Regions from separate parts of the Homo sapiens genome. Here region 2 is linked to region 1. Evidence: promoter capture Hi-C in human tissues and cell types (Jung and others, 2019). All regions are on one chromosome and are shown on one strand. Each heading gives the region's core, a stretch centred on a gene start or on the middle of the fragment in contact. The rest is flanking DNA. Distances are from core to core; before and after follow the strand shown.

Region 1 (3,167 bases), core at 464-2,963:
TGTGAATTAAGTCAGGCTTAAAGCAGAATTTTGTTTTCTATCAGAAATTCTAGAGTAGGTGGAAGGTGAAGACCAAAGAAGGTATTTTCTTTTTCTTTTTCTTTTTTTTTTTTTTGAGATGGAGTCTCGCTCTGTCGCCCAGGCTGGAGTGCAGTGGCACAATCTCAGCTCACTGCAAGCTCCGCCTCCTGGGTTCAAAGGATTCTCCTGCCTCAGCCTCCCAAGTAGCTGGGACTACAGGTGCCCGCCACCATGCCTGGCTAATTTTTTGTATTTTTGGTAGAGATGGGGTTTCACTGTGTTAGCCAGGATGGTCTCGATCTTCTGATCTCGTGATCCGCTCGCCTCAGCCTCCCAAAGTGCTGGGATTACAGGGGTGAGCCACCGTGCCTGGCCCAAAGAGGGTATTTTTTTCTTCCCTCTCGGTATCATCCTTACTCAATTACAAATGATCAAGGGCGGTACTGCCAGAGTCACCTCGAGAGGCCCTGTTCTCTGCCACCCAGGCTGTTTTGTAGTCTCCATTCCAAATTGTCGTTACTCCGGTTTACCCCGTGGATGGCGTTTAAGACTTTTCTTAAATTTGAAATTCACAGAACCATTTTAAAGTGAACAATTCAGTGGCATTTAGTACCTTCGCAGTGTTGTGCAACTTCCACCTCTATCTAGCTGCAAAACATTTTCTTTTCTTTTTTTTTTTGGAGACAGAGTCTCGCTCTGTTGCCCAGACTGGAGTGCAGTGGCGTGATCTTGGCTCACTGCAACTTCTGTCTCCCGGGTTCAAGCAATTCTCCTGCCTCAGCCTCCCGAGTAGCTGGGATTACAGGCACACGCCACCCGCCTGGCTAATTTTTTGTATTTTAGTACAGACGGGGATTTACCATATTGCCCAGGCTGGTCTCAAACTCCTGAGCTCAGGCAATCCGCCCGCCTTGTCCTCCCAAAGTGCTAGGATTACAGGCGTGAGCCAACGCGGCCGGCCTTGTAAAACATTTTCATCACACAAAAGAAAACCTTCTACCCATTAAGCAGTTACTCCTTCCTCTTCTCAGCCCCTGTCAACCACCAATTTGCTTTCTATCCTATGGATTTAACTGTCTGGATATTTCATAGAAATAGAATCACATAATGTATGACCTTTTCTGTTTGGCTTCTTTCTATTAGCCTAATGTTTTTGAGGTTCATTCCTGTTGAAGCATGTATCAGTTCTTCATTCCTTTTTTGGGATGAATAATGTTCCATAATTTATTTATCCTTTCGTCTGTTGATGAACATTTGAGTTGTGTCCACATCTTGGCTATTGTGAATAGTGCTGCCATGTACATTCGTATGTAAGTATTTGAGTATCTGTTGGGTGTATACCTATGAATGGAATTGCTGGGTCTTTTGACAATTCTGTATTTAACTTTTTGAGAAACTGCCAACATTTTCACAGGGGTTGTACCATTTCACATTCCCACCAGCAATCTACAAGGATTCTAATTTCTCCACATCCTGCATTTAAGACTTGCAAAGCTGAATTAATCACAGGATGAGGAAGTGGCTTCTCTGAAACATTTTCCTCTTTCACATTTTAAACTTTCTCTTTCATACATGACATGAAACACAGCCTACGCACGAAAGTGACTAGGAGGAAGGATATTATAAAGTGATGCAAACAGAAATTCCACCAGCCTCCATGTATCATCATGTGTCATAACTCAGTCAAGCTCAGTGAGCATTCTCAGCACATTGCCTCAACAGCTTCAAGGTGAGCCAGCTCAAGACTTTGCTCTCCACCAGGCAGAAGATGACAGACTGTGAATTTGGATATATTTACAGGCTGGCTCAGGACTATCTGCAGTGCGTCCTACAGATACCACAACCTGGATCAGGTCCAAGCAAAACGTCCAGAGTGCTACAAAATGTTGCGTTCTCAGTCCAAAAAGAAGTGGAAAAGAATCTGAAGTCATGCTTGGACAATGTTAATGTTGTGTCCGTAGACACTGCCAGAACACTATTCAACCAAGTGATGGAAAAGGAGTTTGAAGACGGCATCATTAACTGGGGAAGAATTGTAACCATATTTGCATTTGAAGGTATTCTCATCAAGAAACTTCTACGACAGCAAATTGCCCCGGATGTGGATACCTATAAGGAGATTTCATATTTTGTTGCGGAGTTCATAATGAATAACACAGGAGAATGGATAAGGCAAAACGGAGGCTGGGTATGTGTGATGGAAAAATTCTTCATTGTTCTTTCCTGTGAAATAGAAATTGAGAATTTCCTTGCTAGTTAAAACAACAACAAAACACTTTACCTAAGAATACTATTTTCCTTGGGTGGTTTGTTTTAATTTTTAAAATAAAAATATACTTTCTGGCTTATTTCCAATGAATCCTTGAACTTGAACTTTATAGTTGGAAAGCACTTATGTTTTCAGTTTTTATTCTTAACAGTATAAATTACAGTAGTGAGCTTTGGGGATTAATAAAGCACCTCTCTCATGCAGCTTCACAATCAGCTGTGCACACACTCTAATCTAGTACTTAGCTTTTGCTAGGGTTGTCATGACAGTACAGACAGTACAGAAATTTCTACAATCAGCACAGAAAGTTGCTATCAGATGCTGTTATTTTTAGGTATTTATGGGTTGCAAAAGACAGGTGTAAATTTTTGTAAGTTCATCGCTTACAAATTGGTGTTTTTCAGTTTACTAATACATAATAAATAGTAACATATATTAATATATAGCAAATTACATTACATATAATATATAACACATTATTACTAATAATAAATTCCGGGCTGTTAAAGTTTGTTGATTAAAACATAATATACTGTATGACCAGCAAGAACCTTTATTCAAGAATTTTCAAATAAAAATTTACTTTATTATCAGTGCCTAAAAAAGCCAAGACTATGTAGAGGCCTGTGTTGAAACTCATGTTGGTAAAAAGCCTGACACAGCTGGATGTATATGGTTTCCTTTATATTCCAATATACTTAATAATTATTTTTTTAAAGCACTTAAGTGTTCATTGATCCTCTCTCCAACGGCCTTCACCTCTCCCAAGAGGTAACCACTGTTATCAATTATTTTGCATGCAAAACATGCCTACTGAATCTATCCATAGAAAATAAACAATACTTCTTTGTAAAACATTTTTTGTAAAAAAAGTTTT
Region 2 (3,167 bases), core at 321-2,820, 130 kb after region 1:
TTATCATGTTGTCTTACGTATCAAATTATTTGTTGTCATATCTGTCCCCTTCACCATACTGTGAGCTCCAAAGAAAAGAAGTGATCTTTATACTTCTTATGCTTAGTACACAACTAGACATATAGTGTGTGTGTGAGAGAGAGAATTTTTTAATGAAATAATTGAATACATTGGAAGTGTTTCATTCAAAATACTCATCCATTATTCTTTGGATAGTAGCATAAATTTGATGTTTTATGTACAAAAGTAAAAACATTTGAAAAATATCAGGCTGAATATGGGTTTGTACAATATAATATGTATGATGAGGAAAGGGAAGGAAACTGAATTCTCAGAAGCTATGAAGTCACATTATTGTACTGGTTAAAAATATTGTTAAGTATTATTTCGACTATAAGGTTAAAGTGAATGTTAATGTAGCTGACATGACTGTTGGTGTGAAATGGTAGAGCAGTAAAATTCCTGACCTGCTGCAGGTCTAGAAAGTTTGGCATTGTTGAACTTAGTCTATGTTATTCTTCTGTTAAATGAGAGCATTTAAAAACCACTCTACCAGCTCCTCAAGTGCAGACAGAATGCCGAGTTAACTGGCCAGAAAATGCAGGGTGCTGAGATTCAGGAAAGTCAGAGGGCCACAGGATCTCGGCCTGAAAAGAGAAGCACTCCCTAGTGATCACTAATGCACAGTAGTCTTTGTGCAGGGATATTGGAAGGGAGAAAATGCCCCTATGATGTAGGTGATTACAACACTGTAACTCTGATTAGGGCATACACAGAGGCTGAAGACAAGGCCTTAGACTCAGGAGGCAAGCACTTCAGTAGAGGCTAACATGAAGCAAGAATGATGAGCGTCTCAGATGAGGGGACAATCTGAGTAGAAGAGAAATAGCAACTAGATCTGCACAAAAACAATTTCAAATATTGGGAAATTGGAAATATATCAGGGCCCCAACATAGGTCTGTGTTTGCTGTATGTACTATAGAACTGTGCTTAATTTAATTAGAAAGTAAACTATATAAAGTTCTAGTCAAGAGCATTATACACTTAATCACAAAGTCTTACTAACTAGGAGATTGATAAATGTGACTAGGCGTGAGTGTCTTGCTGCAGACAGTTCCTGGTCCCAATTTTTTTTTTTTTTTCCTGCAGAGATCATTGAAATTCAGTTGATCACACTGCTCTTTAGTCATATGTTTACATGCTTAATTTCTCCACTACCCTACAATCTCCTCAAAGGCAAATTCTCTGCCAAGTTCATAGTTTATTCCAGTATCTACCACAGACACAAAAAATAAAGAGCCAATAAATTCTTTTTTTAGTTGTTCCAGCAACATTTATTGAATATGTAACTTTATGTCTGTTATAGATTAAGTTCTCCAATATATGTGAATCTGTTTGCTGGCTTACTTCATTGTCCCTTTGTTATGTTTTTCTGTCTCAGCACCAGCCCCACATTGCTTTAGTTCTCATAGTTTTAAGTCTTGATGGCTATGAGGGTAAGCCTCCTTCCTAATTCTTCTTCAGGAATGCCTAAGAGCCAATCAATTCTTGATGAAGGAATGAACCAGTTTGAATATTGCCCTGCCTGTGCTGTGCACTTGCTCATTTTTATGTTGGTTGCTGTTTGCTGCTGAGATTCTGTCCCCTTAGCATTGTCTCAGGCTTGGATTATCCCAGAACAAGTTTTCTATTACTGCATTGCGTTGTGTTGGGCAGTCCATGTGTGTGTGTCACATTGTCTTTCTGTGCTACTTTTCCTTCTTAGTGCTCTCTTGTTTGCTTTTTAGGGTTGTCTTCTTCCCTATTCCTGGATGATTGTAGACCTCCTGCCCTTTAATGGTAGTTGCCAATCCCTGTAAGCACCTACCCCCAAATATGTTTATTTATATGCTTAAAGTAATAATAAATTTTTCTGAGTAATAACATACACATTATAAAATATACACACAAGAAGTATGAGATAATGTTGAAATAGAATATATGATATATAATTTATAATATACTTGTTTATATATATTTTATACATATATAAATAAGTGTAATATACTCATTTTTAAAAAGAGCAATATGATCAAGAGCAGCATGAGATGATGTTGAAGTAGAATATGTTATATATAATTTATAATGGACTTTTTAAAAAAGCAATATTTTTTAAATGAAATCTTTTGGACATTTACTATTTTTGAAAACCTTATTTTAACACCTTTTGAATGATTCAAAATTCTGGTTCTAATTTCAGTTTATTTCAATATTTGGTCTTAAGGGCTGTTAGAGCTGAAAAGGATACCTTCTAGAGAAGCAGATTCAGATGGAAGGAAAACTATACCTACTAAAATTTTCAATCCTATTTACCAATTTTGCAAAGATAATTTTTTTTTAATTTAAATCTGGCTGGTAAATATCCATTTTCTTGATGTGAATCTGTCATTTTTGCATGTTAATCAGAAGGTGCTACACATTTACTTTGTTAAAAAGTAGGGGCTGGAGTTCGAGGTTACAGTGAGCTATGATTGCGGCACTGAAGTCCAGCCTGGGTGACAGAGCAAGACCCCGTCTCTAACAACAACAACAACAACAACAACAACAAAAACATAAAAAACAAGTAGGTTCGAAGCTTACTGAAATTCTTTCAAAGATTTTAAATCAAGTTAGAAAAATTCTGCTTACAAATTTTTCAGTTGTGTAGATGTGAAAGTGTTTGTAGGTGTCACACTATTAATAGTTTTTGGCAACATAGTCATATAATGATGAAAATATTTCCAAATAGCCATTTTTATATGCACTCTTCATACTACAAGTCTCTGAAAGTAGTTCCTTTGTGTCTCAGTGATGAACTATAACTTTCACTCTGAAAATTCAAATGAGATGTATTTATTTCTTTGAAGTTTACTAGTGGCCATTTACAATCTCAGAAAGGTCAGAAATGTGGCATACTTGCTCTTTGTGCGAAAAATACACATAAAACTCATATTTGAGTTTACAGCTTGTTTTTTTTGAGACAAGAATCTTTCTGTGTCCAACCCCCCCAACCCCAGCTGGAGTGCAGTGGCGTGATCTCGGCTCACTGCAGCCTTCGCCTCCCAGGTTCAAGCGATTCTCCTGCCTCAGCCTCCCAAGTAGCTGGGACTACAGGTGCCCGCCACCATGCCCAGCTAATTTTTGTACT

The links. Contacts are between HindIII fragments. The study calls those that stand out against the background at their distance.
Region 2: a fragment that was not itself captured here is called in contact with the fragment with the promoter of BCL2A1 in region 1 in 1 of the 25 tissues and cell types used here (liver).

The regions. Positions count from the first base shown.
Region 1 is chr15:79,969,742-79,972,908 of GRCh38, reverse strand. BCL2A1 (BCL2 related protein A1) reads left to right here and starts at 1,713. Exons shown (of 2, transcript NM_004049.4): 1 at 1,713-2,209. The coding sequence starts at 1,790. RefSeq lists an enhancer at 1,090-2,289. The HindIII fragment of the contact is 21,858 bases long and covers 1-3,167 here.
Region 2 is chr15:79,840,646-79,843,812 of GRCh38, reverse strand. ST20-MTHFS (ST20-MTHFS readthrough) reads left to right here. Exons shown (of 4, transcript NM_001199760.2): 4 at 1-266. MTHFS (methenyltetrahydrofolate synthetase) reads left to right here. Exons shown (of 3, transcript NM_006441.4): 3 at 1-266. Among named protein-coding and RNA genes, the nearest start is that of MTHFS, 55 kb to the left of the region's middle. The HindIII fragment of the contact is 6,213 bases long and covers 1-3,167 here.